Linked DNA regions of Homo sapiens: regions 1 and 2 are each linked to region 3. The links are contacts of gene promoters, found by promoter capture Hi-C in human tissues and cell types (Jung and others, 2019). All regions are on one chromosome and are shown on one strand. Each heading gives the region's core, a stretch centred on a gene start or on the middle of the fragment in contact. The rest is flanking DNA. Distances are from core to core; before and after follow the strand shown. Region 1 holds the start of DYNC1H1 (dynein cytoplasmic 1 heavy chain 1). Region 2 has its middle 14 kb from the start of LINC02320. Region 3 holds the start of WDR25 (WD repeat domain 25).

Evidence for each region. The method cuts DNA at HindIII sites, captures the fragments that hold promoters and counts their contacts. A contact is called where the count stands out against the background at its distance.
Region 1: a contact is called between the fragment with the promoter of DYNC1H1 here and the fragment with the promoter of WDR25 in region 3, in 1 of the 25 tissues and cell types used here (mesenchymal stem cells).
Region 2: a contact is called between a fragment that was not itself captured here and the fragment with the promoter of WDR25 in region 3, in 1 of the 25 tissues and cell types used here (dorsolateral prefrontal cortex).

The regions. Positions count from the first base shown.
Region 1 is chr14:101,961,781-101,965,855 of GRCh38, reverse strand. It overlaps DYNC1H1 (dynein cytoplasmic 1 heavy chain 1), which reads right to left and starts at 1,283. Exons shown (of 78, transcript NM_001376.5): 1 at 909-1,283. The coding sequence starts at 1,164. RefSeq lists silencers at 591-800, 1,291-1,450 and enhancers at 326-935, 936-1,546, 1,591-1,730. The HindIII fragment of the contact is 2,222 bases long and covers 1,211-3,432 here.
Region 2 is chr14:101,743,530-101,747,532 of GRCh38, reverse strand. No RefSeq gene overlaps it. Among named protein-coding and RNA genes, the nearest start is that of LINC02320, 14 kb to the right of the region's middle. The HindIII fragment of the contact is 7,602 bases long and covers 1-4,003 here.
Region 3 is chr14:100,374,660-100,378,830 of GRCh38, reverse strand. It overlaps WDR25 (WD repeat domain 25), which reads right to left and starts at 2,346. Exons shown (of 7, transcript NM_001161476.3): 1 at 2,336-2,346. It overlaps WARS1 (tryptophanyl-tRNA synthetase 1), which reads left to right and starts at 3,484. Exons shown (of 11, transcript NM_004184.4): 1 at 3,484-3,548. RefSeq lists silencers at 2,213-2,262, 2,453-2,512 and enhancers at 3,023-3,382, 3,393-3,532. The HindIII fragment of the contact is 17,907 bases long and covers 1-4,171 here.

The DNA.
Region 1 (4,075 bases), core at 34-2,533, 1.6 Mb before region 3:
CCTACTAGGTGCCTAACCTGAATCTTTTTTTTTTTTTTTAATCTGTAAAATTAGACTCAAATATTACAGGGTTATCATTAACATCATCGAAGCATTAAACAAATATGAGGTATGATCAGTGAAAACAAGCAGTGGATGGGGAGCTGAGACACTGAGTCTAGTCTCAGGACTAAGATTAGCTGGTGACCTTGGGTGAAATCACTTAACCTGAGCCTCAGTTTCCTCAGGTGTAAAATCAGGATACACCCGTTCAGCAAGGATGCTGTGAGAGCATCCACCTACAACAGTGATGCTCGCAGGCCCGGGGCTGGCACCGTCGCTCTGTGGGCCTCGGCCTCTGGGTCCCCACAAGGCAGGGCTGGGACACCCGCCCGACCTCCTCCCGAACCAGAACCCCGGCTGCCCCCAGCTCCGCGGGTCTGCCCCCGACACATCCCTCCCGAAGGCCACTTGGCTTGGACACAAATCGAAACCGAAAAGCTCATGTGACACTGGAGGCAGGGATGCGGCCTCGCCCGCTCTCAGCCCAGGGAGACGCTGTCTCCACCCAACTCGGCCATCTTGAGAGGCCCGAGCAGACAAAGCGACCCCATTGTTTTGGGTGACGGCAGACGGGGACCCCTTTCCCCTCCCCGCGACCAGGAGCGGGGCGCCCTGGGGGCTCCGGGCCGGGCAGTGGGTGTGGCGAGGGCGAGCCCCGGGCGCCGCGCCGGCCTCTGCGGGGCGTCTGCGGCCCTGGGGACCCGGCCGGCGGGACGTCTGCGGCCGCCGGGCTCTGCCCATCCAGGGGTCATCTGCAGCTGCCGGGCTCCTCCCATCCCGGGGACATCTGCGACCCCGGAGGACCTGGCAGGCCCTGCATTCCGCGAGGCCTGGCTCTGGCGACCCTGCCCTCCGCGGCCCCGCACCTTTGAGCGTGGAGCGCTCCACCAGCACCGTGTGGACCTGCGGGTCCGAAAGGAACTTGCGCATCTGCTCCAGGGCGCTCTTCTCCTCCAGCGCCGCCTCCAGCGCGGCCGGCGCCTCGCCGCCGTCCTCCAGCAGCAGCGGCACCAGCTTGCGCAGGTGCTTCTGCAGCACCGACACGTCCGCCACATTCTGCACGGCCGACACTTCCAATCCGGCCGAGCCGTCCTCGCCGCCGCCGCCCCCGGGCTCCGACATGGTGTCGCGCTCGGGACCTTCCAGGAGCGATGAGAAGGCGGCCGCGACTCAGCGAGACAGCCAGCAAGAGACAGAAACGGCCGCCGGAAGCCGGACCGTCCGCTAGCCCACCGCAGACTGAGGAGAGCGGGAGCCGGCTCCGCCCTAAAGGCAGCCACTGCCAGGTGGCCCCGCCCCGCCCCGCCGGCCGCAGCCGCCGCAGCCACCCGCGCTCGCTCGCGGCCTTAGCGTCACGGCGCCGCGCGTGCGCGGGGGGCGGGCCCGGCGATGTCGCCGCGCGCCCTTCTGGGACTTGTAGTCTCGGCGCTGGTCGGGGCCCGCAGCCTCCGCACTGCGAGTCCTAGGAGATGGGGACTTGGCTCAACGTCCTGGCTCGGCGCCCGGGCTTGGCGAGGTTGGTCAGGGGCTGCGTCTGTCTTCTTCACTGCTGTGGACGCAGCGAATAGCACACAGCCAGAGAAACTTTATAGTGAATCAGTGATGTTATTGGCGAGAGCTAACGTTTAGTGAGCGCTTAGCCTGTGCCCGGCGTTGTTCTAAGCCCCTTAACCTCTCATTAAATGTTCTCTCATTGAATGAATGAATGACTACGTATCAGGTACCAAAATATAGGCACGACAGATGTGTTATTAGATATAGACCGGGAGATTGAGGATACTTTTCAGAGGGGGAGGAGATGAGGGGCGTGCTCAGAGAGTCCCATTGCCAGGCTGGAAACGGACAGCTGGGGAGGGGGCCTTCGGGGCAGTGTAAGGTTAAGCCAGGAATGACACCTTCACTGTACGTAAAGCCAAGCTGTGATGGGATCTGGTTCCTAATGACAAAAATCATTGTCCCCGAGGACGCTGTGAGGACCAAGAGGGAGACCTACTGAGAACAGCTACCTCCAGCAATGGCTCTCCTCCAGCCCCCTAGAGCTGGCACTGTCATTCTGTGGGCCTCAGTATCTGGGTCCGTACAAGGCAGGGGCTGGGTTGCCTGCCCACCAAGTTTCCCCCTAGTTCGGACCCACCACGACCTCCTCCCCTACACCATGACTACATAAGAGCCAGAATCCAGGCTGCCCAGCTGGGTGCGGTGGCTCACACCTGTAATCCTAGCATTTTGAGAGGCTGAGATGGGAGGATTGCTTGAGGCCAGAAGTTCCAAGACCAGCCTGGTCAACCTAGCGAGACCCTATATCTATGTGTATTTAAAAATTAAGAATTTTGTAAAATAATAAAAATAATAGAATCCAGGCTGCCCATCTTTGTAGTTTAGAGATGGTAGGTTCTTCTAAGGGGTAGTAATTGGCCTTTGAAAGTTCACATTCATAACTTCTTTCTTAAGTTGGGTGGAGAGAGGGAAGCCAATGGCGTTTTTTTTTTTTTTGGTTTTTTTGTTTTTTTTAAACATCAAAGTGCACTGTCAGAGTGCCGAGTCCTGATTGGTGGAATGATGATGGTATGATTTGATTCTCCCAAATCATCTTTGAAAAACTGTGAAACATACAATAAGCTTATTCCTTGCCTAATTACCGGTTGCTGGGTCCCAGGGGGTTGCTGGAACACGGAGACTAATCAGATGATTCTTGTCTTTAAGGAGCATGTGGAAGAGGGGACAGATGAATACCCCATCTTCCTGCTCTCCATCAGTCCGCCCTGGTGTGATGTGCCTAAGCAGTTCCGAGTAATCTTCCTGGAAAAAATAAATAGGCAACTGCGATGAGTTTGTGCAAGGATCCTAATGGTAATGAATAATAATAACACACCACTGACAGCGAACGCTGAGTGTTCACTGCGTGCTAGGCACCATGCAGAGGGTTTCCCCTCACATGTACTTTAGGGGTAGAAAGAGGGACAAAGAGGAAAGTCTATTAGGTGCAGATCTGTGAACTCTGAATAGGCCATCCACCATCTGAGACTCAGAAACCTGCAGGGACCTGGCCGATGGGCAGGCTGCATGCTGGCTGCACCATGAGTCAGCACCAGACTGGGAGACGCAGCCACTCAGGGATCCAAGGGACTCAAACATCTGCAACCTGGCCCCAGGCCAAGAGAACAAACTGCAGGCTCCGGATTTGCGGCCCTGTAGGATAGGCTCAAAATGAAACATGTTTGTTATTTCTAAGTGGATGGGAACTGAAAGAACCCGAACAATCAGTGTACAAGGATTCATGAATGGACCAAACATGCTTGCTTTTTGTTCTTGAAAGATGTTTGTTGTATTTAATATATAACGAGAAGAGTGGTCAACGCTGACTGGGTGCTGAGCACTTTAAGTGCATTACCTGGGTGGCTGGCTGGGCTGTGCCAGGGTTGAAGGGTGTGGGGAGCTTCTTTCAAGGTGCCCCTTCTGCCTCCTGGCACAGGACTCTGGCTCCAGCACACCCCAAGCTGACCCTGGTGGGGGTAGGGCCCCTCACCCAAACCTGGCCTCTCCCGTCTCTTGTTCTGCTGCCTCAGCTTTCTCCTGTCTGTGGTAGAGTCTGCTTGGACAGACTCTGGGCAGGGCAGGGGGCAGGGCAAGCTGGAGAGAGAATTCGTTCTAGGTTGATGTGGGATGATAGTGGCTGGTAGGGCGCTTGTATCCTATTGGAAATCCATGATGAGATCCCATTCATTCCCACCCTTCTCTTAACAATGTCTCCTTAAGTCCAAGTCTCAAGTCGGGTGCCCAGTTTCATACCATCCTTCCTCTCCCTCTCACAACCTTCGGGCAGGACCAACCCCCTCAGAGGAACCCCTGCTGCCCCAGCCCTTTCAGGCTCTGTGCCCAGGATCTCCCCTCCACTCCCTGGAAATTCCACATTTGGCCAGGTGTGGTGGTGCACACCCTTGTTCCCAGCTACTCAAAAGGTTGAGGTGGAGGTCGAGGCTGCAGTGAGCTGTGATCTCACTACTGCACTCCAGCCTGTGCAAGAGAGTGAGAC
Region 2 (4,003 bases), core at 330-2,829, 1.4 Mb before region 3:
AACTCAGGATTAAGAAATTCACTCAAAACCACACAACTACATGGAAACTGAACAACCTGCTCCTGAATGACTACTGGGTAAATAATGAAATGAAGGCAGAAATAAAGATGTTCTTTGAAACCAATGAGAACAAAGACACAATGTACCAGAATCTCTGGGACACATTTAAAGCAGTGTGTAGAGGGAAATTTTTAACACTAAATTCCCACAAGAGAAAGAGGAAAGATCTAAAATCAACACCCTAACATCTCAATTAAAAGAACTAGAGAAGCAAGAGCAAACTTCAAAAGCTAGCAGAAGGCAAGAAATAACTAAGATCAGAGCAGAACTGAAGTAGATAGAGACACAAAAAAACCTTCAAAAAATCAATGAATCCAGGAGCTGGTTTTTTGAAAAGATCAACAAAATTGATAGACCACTAGCAAGACTAATAAAGAAGAAAAGAGAGAAGAATCAAATAGATGCAATACAAAATGATAAAGGGGATATCACCACAGATCCCACAGAAATACAAACTACCATCAGAGAATAAACTAGAAAATCTAGAAGAAATGGATAAATTCCTGGACACATACACCCTCCCAAGACCAAACCAGGAAGAAGTTGAATCTCTGAATAGACCAATAACAGGCTCTGAAATTGAGGCAATAATTAATAGCCTACCAACCAAAAAAAGTCCAGGACCAGATAGATTCACAGCTGAATTCTACCAGAGGTACAAAGAGGAGCTGGTACCATTCCTTCTGAAACGATTCCAATCAATAGAAAAAGAGGGAATCCTCCCTAAATCATTTTATGAGGCCAACATCATCCTGATACCAAAGCCTGGCAGAGACACAACAAAAAAGGCAATTTTAGACCAATATCCCTGATGAACATCGATGTGAAAATTCTCAATAAAATACTGGCAAACTGAATCCAGCAGCACATCAAGAAGCTTATCTACCACGATCAAGTCAGCTTCATCCCTGGGATGCAAGGCTGGTTCAACATATGCAAATCAATATATGCAATCCATCACATAAACAGAACCAATGACAAAAACCACATGATTATCTCAATAGATGCAGAAAAGGCCTTTGACAAAATCCAACAACCATTCATCCTAAAAACTCTCAATAAATTAGGTATTGATGGAATGTATCTCAAAATAATAAGAGCTATTTATGACAAACCCACGGCCAATATCATACTGAACGGGCAAAAACTGGAAGCATTCCCTTTGAAAAGTGGCACAAGACAGGGATGCCCTCTCTCACCACTCCTATTCAACACAGTGTTGGAAGTTCTGGCCAGGACAGTCAGGCAAGAGAAAGAAATAAAGGGTATTCAATTAGGAAAAGAGGAAGTCAAATTGTCCCTGTTTGCAGATGACATGATTGTATATTTAGAAAACCCCACTGTTCTCAGCCCAAAATCTCCTTAAGCTGATAAGCAACTTCAGCAAAGTCTCAGGATACAAAATCAGTGTGCAAAAATCACAAGCATTCCTATACACCATTAACACACAAACAGAGAGCCAAATCATGAGTGAACTCCCATTCACAACTGCTACAAAGAGAATAAAATACCTAGGAATCCAACTTACAAAGGATGTGAAGGACCTCTTCAAGGAGAACTACAAACCACTGCTCAAGGAAATAAAGAGAATACAAACAAATGGAACAACATTCCATGCTCATGGGTTGGAAGAATCAATATCGTGAAAATGGCCATACTGCCCAAAGTAATTTATAGATTCAATGCCATCCCCATCAAGCTACCAATGACTTTCTTCACAGAATTGGAAAAAACTACTTTAAAGTTCATATGGAACCAAAAAAGAGCCTGCATTGCCAAGACAATCCTAAGCCAAAAGAACAAATCTGGAGGCATCACGCTACCTGACTTCAAGCTATACTACAAGGCTACAGTAACCAAAACAGCATGGTACTGGTACTAAAACAGAGAGATAGACCAATGGAACAGAACAGAGGCCTCAGAAATAACACCACACATCTACAACCATCTGATCTTTGACAAACCAACAAAAACAAGAAATGGGGAAAGGATTCCCTATTTAATAAATGGTGCTGGGAAAACTAGCTAGCCATATGTAAAAAGCTGAAACTGGATCCCTTCCTTACACATTATACAAAAATTAATTCAAGATGGATTAAAGACTTAAATGTTATACCTAAAACCATAAAAACCCTAGAAGCAAACCTAGGCAATACCATTCAGGACATAGGCATGTGCAATTTCATGACTAAAACACCAAAAGCAATGGCAACAAAACCAAAATAGACAAATGGGATCTAATTAAACTAAACAGCTTCTGCACAGCAAAAGAAACTACCATCAGAGTGAACAGGCCACCTACAGAATGGGAGAAAATTTTTGCAATCTACCCATTTGACAAAGGGCTCATATCCAGAATCTACAAAGAACTTAAACAAATTTACAAGAAAAAAAACAACCCCATCAAAAAGTGGGCAAAGGATATGAACAGACACTTCTCAAAAGAAGACATTTATGCAGCCAACAGACACATGAAAAAATGTTCATCGTCACTGGTCATCAGACAAATGCAATCAAAACCACAGTGAGACAGCATCTCACACCAGTTAGAATGGCAGTCATTAAAAAGTCAGGAAACAACAGATGCTGGAAAGGATGTGGAGAAATAGGAACGCTTTTACACTGTTGGTGGAGTGTAAACTAGTTCAACCATTGTGGAAGACAGTGTGGCAATTCCTCAAGGAGCTAGAACTAGAAATACCATTTGGCCCAGAGATACTATTACTGGGTATATACCCAAAGGATTATAAATCATGCTACTGTAAAGACACATGCACACGTATGTTTATTGCGGCACTATTCACAATAACGAAAACTTGGAACAACCCAAATGTCCATCAGTGATAGACTGGATTAAGAAAATGGCGCATATACACCATGGAATACTATGCAGCCATAAAAAAGGATGAGTTCGTGTCCTTTGCAGGGACATGGATAAAGCTGGAAACCATCATTCTGAGCAAACTATCACAAGGGCAGAAAACCAAACACTGCATGTTCTCACTCATAGGTGGGAATTGAACAATGAGAACACTTGGACACAGGGTGGGGAACATCACAAACCAGGGCCTGTCGTGGGGTGGAGGGCAGGGGGAGGGATAGCATTAGGAGAAATACCTAATGTAAATGACGAGTTAATGGGTGCGGCAAACCCACATGGCACATGTATACCTATGTAACAAACCTGTACATTGTGCACATATACCCTAGAACTTATGTATAATAAAAAATGAAATAAAATGTAAAATTCCATGTTTAATTAACACTAGCCGTATTTTGAGTGCTTATAGCCACATGTGGCGAGTTGACAGCATAGACACAGAAGAGTCTTATTGTCACAGAAAATTCTATGGACAAAGCTGGATTAGACTCTATGGGGTGCCTGCTAGAGGGTGTTGGCTATATTAGCTACGATGGTCAGGGAAGGTTGCTCTGAGAAGGTAAATTTGAACTGGGACCTGACAAAGGAGTCAGCCACGTGAGACACTGGGAGAGAGCACTGGCACCTGAGGACCAGCTGGTGCAAAGGCCCTGGGGCATAGACGACATCTAACTTAGGCCATCAAAGGAATGCTCTGGCTAATGGGTGTGGGCGGATGTATGTGAAGGTGGGATGGGATGGGGTGGGCAGAGGAAGCAAGGATGCTAGTTTTCAGCTTTCATTAGTGGTCTTGGCTGGACATAAATTTGACTTGGGCTATTTTCTCTGCTACACATTGCTGCTCCTATTGCCCTAGATGATTTTGTGTTCTCATTCTGCTACCGAGACGATACCAACCAGCGTGATACTACTGTGTTCAAAGACTGCTGTTTGAATCAGCTTTGCTACGGAGAGGACGAACCTGTTACAGTTGTGGGCTTTTTCTGCCTTTTTCAAAACTTAACTGACTCCAAAAGTAAAATATTTACTGCACAAACCTTAGCAAGTGCAGGTAAACAAGAG
Region 3 (4,171 bases), core at 1,097-3,596:
GCCCGCCACTACGCCCGGCTAATTTTTTGTATTTTTAGTAGAGACGGGGTTTCACCGTTTTAGCCGGGATGGTCTCGATCTCCTGACCTCGTGATCCGCCCGCCTCGGCCTCCCAAAGTGCTGGGATTACAGGCGTGAGCCACCGCGCCCGGCCTGCCTGGAACATTCTTCCCCCAGGTATCCCATCTCTGTAGCAGCCAGCTGGACAGACAGGCCCACAGCACAAGGCTAAGGTCCTGAGGTGTCCGTCTACCCAAGTGTGCAGGGAGCAATTCTGAGGGCATGATCCAAATCCACCCATTTCACTCCCAACACACAGATTCACACTGCAATGAATTTCTACTTGTTAAAAAAAATCTTTCTGGGCAGGGCATAGTGGCTCATGCCTGTAATCCCAGCACTTTGGGAGGCCGAGGTGGGCGGATCACCTGAGGTCGAGTTCGAGACCAGCCTGGCCAACATGGTGAAACCCTGTCTCTACTAAAATACAAAAATTAGCCGGGCGTGGTGGCACACGCCTGTAATCCCAGCTACTCGGGAGGCTGAGGCAGGAGAATCATTTAAACCCAGGAGGCAGAGGTTGCAGTGAGCCAAGATCGCGCCATTGCACCCCAGCCTGGGCGACAAGAGTGAAACTTCGTCTCAAAAAAAAAAAAAATCTTTCTGAAATTCTGAACCATCATACACAATACATGGTTATCAATTAGTTCCCAGAAAGAAGTGCTTTGGTAATTTTTTACTTCTGTGCTGTTAGCACCAAGCACAATCCAGAGAAAAAGAAGGGTGCTAGGCACTCCTAGGACAGCAGAGGGCGCGGTGGAACAGCACAGAACGCTCAGGCAATAGACCGACTTCCAAGAAAACCCAGTGCACCCAACCTTAATCAAACACGCCAAGCTCCGCCTCCATCCCCCAACAGGTGGAGTCAGGTCAGCATCAACAGATTCCCTCCAAGTCCTTTTCTAAGTCATTCCAGACAGCCTATTACCCATCTCTTCTTCTAGACAATGGGTTTCTATGTCCCCTGGAATCAACCACCCAACCTCTTCCACACCTTTCCCCCAAGTGGCATCATTCGCCTGAGGGTTCCACTGGTCTACAAGTCAGGTCATCATTCCATAAATGTCTGTAGTCAGCCTCCTCTAGTAATGCCGCCCCCGTTCGCAGCCCATTCCAGGCAGGTAACAACTTCCACACGCAAAGCCAGAGTTTAAATAAAACGACCGGGCGCGGTGGCTCACGCCTGTAATCCTAGCACTGTAGGAGGCCGAGAAGGGCGGATTACCTGAGGTCGGGGGTTCAAGACCAGCCTGGCCAACATGGTGAAACCCCGTCTCTACTAAAAATACAAAAAAAAAAAAAATTTAGCCGTGTGCAGTGGTGCGCGCCTGTAATCCCAGCTACTCTGGAGGCTGAGGCCGCAGAATTGCTTGAACCCGGGAGGCGGAGGTTGCGGTGAGTGGAGATCACGCCACTGCACTCCAGCCTGGGCTACAGAGCGAGACTTGGTCTCAAAAAACAACAACAACAACAACAACTTCTAAAGCCAGCCAGCCAGCTCATCTCCAATGGAACTAATATAATATGAAAGACTAATTATAAACTAATGGAACCGTGCACTGCAAATAATTTGGCATTTCTGTTCTCTAAATGCTAAGCCTGGTCCCGAGGCCACTCTCAACTCCTCTGCCCAGGCACCACCCACCATGCACCCAGATTCCCACCACCAGGGTGCCCGTGCTCCCTCTGGAAGGAGATGAGGGATTAAACGAAGAGGAACAGACAGTAAGATGGAAGGGAAGGCAGGGACACTGGAGAAGAGTCTAAGGAAGGAGCGAGTGACTCTGACAGTCACTATCAGCAAGTCAGCCCCATGAGGACAGGACTTTCTGTGTTTTGTTCACTATTCAATGCCCAGCGTCTAAAAATATTTCTGGAATGCAAACGGGTGGGAGGGGGAGATGCTAGGAAGTAAAAGAAATAGGATATTCCCATTCAACAAACATTTCCTGATTACGTACTCTTTGTCAAGCCCTATGCTGGGTCTGGTGTGGGTGGAAATCAAACACAAAACACAGATCCCCCCGGAGGCCCCAGAGCGATGAAAGCAACAAACAAGATACGACCAGAGATGGGTTTTGAAGGATGAATAGGAGTTAGCTGAGCTGTCAATAGTAAGAAGTAAGGTTGGTCCAAGGCACAGCGCTTTCTGAAGGAACAGGAAGTGAAAGGAAGGCGAGCGGCTATGAGAGACCGCGTTAAGCGGCACGGGGCGCTTTAGGCGCTGCCCAGTCCCGGCCCCTCCAGCCCGGGGCCCGCCGCTCACCACACGCACCGGAAGCGCTCGGTTCTCCCGGAGGCAGACCGGCCAGCACACTACCATCCAGTCACGTTCCGACGCGACGCCGCGGCCGCCAGCCAATCAGTGGCGGCCTCTGCCCCGCCCCCGCGCGAACAGCCAATGACGGCGCCGTCGGGCCGGAAGTTGTTCCGTCCGGACGGCGTTTCCACGGACGCCCAGGAGACAGCCGGTTGCTGAGCCGGGAGCGCTGACTGGCCCGGCTGGGCAGGGTAAGCGAGGGGAGTAAGGCCGGGGCGGAGTGAGGAAACAAGGGAGGGAGTGATGGAGGGACGCTGGCGCGGCGCCCAGTGGCCTGGCCCTCCCGGGAGTATCCTTAGAGCCCGGCTTGCTGCCCGCCGCGTTCTGGCACTGTGAGGCGCGGAGCCTGCCACCGACCCCTCGCCCCTTTCCTCTGAGCGCCGCCGACCCACCCCGTCTCCCTTTCCCACTGGCACCCTTCATCGTCTCCGCCTGTTCGCTTTTCCCGAGGAGAGAGGCCCCCATTTTTATTTAGCGCCTGCCATGTGCCAGAGGCTTTGCGTAGTGTTGCACTTAGTCCCCTCAACGGTAATGTTAGCAGGCTTCTCCATGCCCATTCCACAGATGAGGAAACCGAAGGGGAAGCAGAAAAGTAATGCGACCCTTGCCCAAGGTTTCGAATAAGTCCAAGCTGGGATTGAAACCCAGGCGTCTGTGACCCCAGAACTCCTGATCTTTCCACTGCACTGTGCCGCCTCGGTGAACAGATGCGGGGAATTTACAGTTTCTCTTTCCACCGCCCACGACTACACAAAATCAGTCACACTGACGCTGAGGGTGGGGAACGGGAAGAGGGTGGGGAGGTTATTTGGAGGCCAGCGGGGGGTGAGGGGTGGCTGATGCAATGACCAGCTAATGGCTCGATTCTCAAGAGGGTTTCATTGGTCTCAACCTGGCCCCCCAGGCAACCCACCCCTGATTGGACAGTCTCATCAAGAAGGTTGGTCAAGAGCTCAAGTGTTTCTGAGAATCTGGGTGATTTATAAGAAACCCTTAGCTGAATGCAGGGTGGGGAGAACGAAAGACAAAAGCATCTTTTTTCAGAAGGGAAACTGAAAGAAAGAGGGGAAGAGTATTAAAGACCATTTCTGGCTGGGCAGGGCACTCTCAGCAGCTCAACTGCCCAGCGTGACCAGTGGCCACCTCTGCAGTGTCTTCCACAACCTGGGTATGTATTGCCATCTTTGCCAGGCTTAGAGCTTGTTCGTGTTTTTAGCAAAGTGCTGAAAACCTTGGTTTAGGGGGTCAGGACTTGTGTCTTAGGATTAGGGTGTTATGCATTTTACTTCTTCCATTGACCCAAAGTTCAGGTGATTCACTGCTCCCATAGGGAACAGAGATCCTGGCTGAGCAGTCGCGGGCTTGGATCCGTAGCTTGCCTCTCAGCACCGTCATGCTGTCTGTCATAATTTTCACTGATGCACCCTCCTTCTGTGCTCAACATCAGAACGTATTGTCATTCTTATTGTGACACCCAAAAGTGTCTCGTGCCTGGCTTCATAGAAATTAATGTCTTTGCCTTTTAAGATAATGTTCATGCTGTTATTTGGCGGGGAAAGCAATCTTTCTTTTAGTGTTTAAAAAAAATGGAACATGATGGGTCCCAAAAGGTGTCAAGAAATCCTTGCTCTAAAGAAGTCATTTTCTTGTCCTCTGGGAACTTGCCAGTCCAAAGGTATTGTCACCTACACTCTGGGGCCAAGATAGAAAGGATGGTATTCTACCTCCTGGTGGTATTCCAGGGATCCAGAAACACTCCTGGGCCACATTCTCTTCTCACCTGCTCCAGAA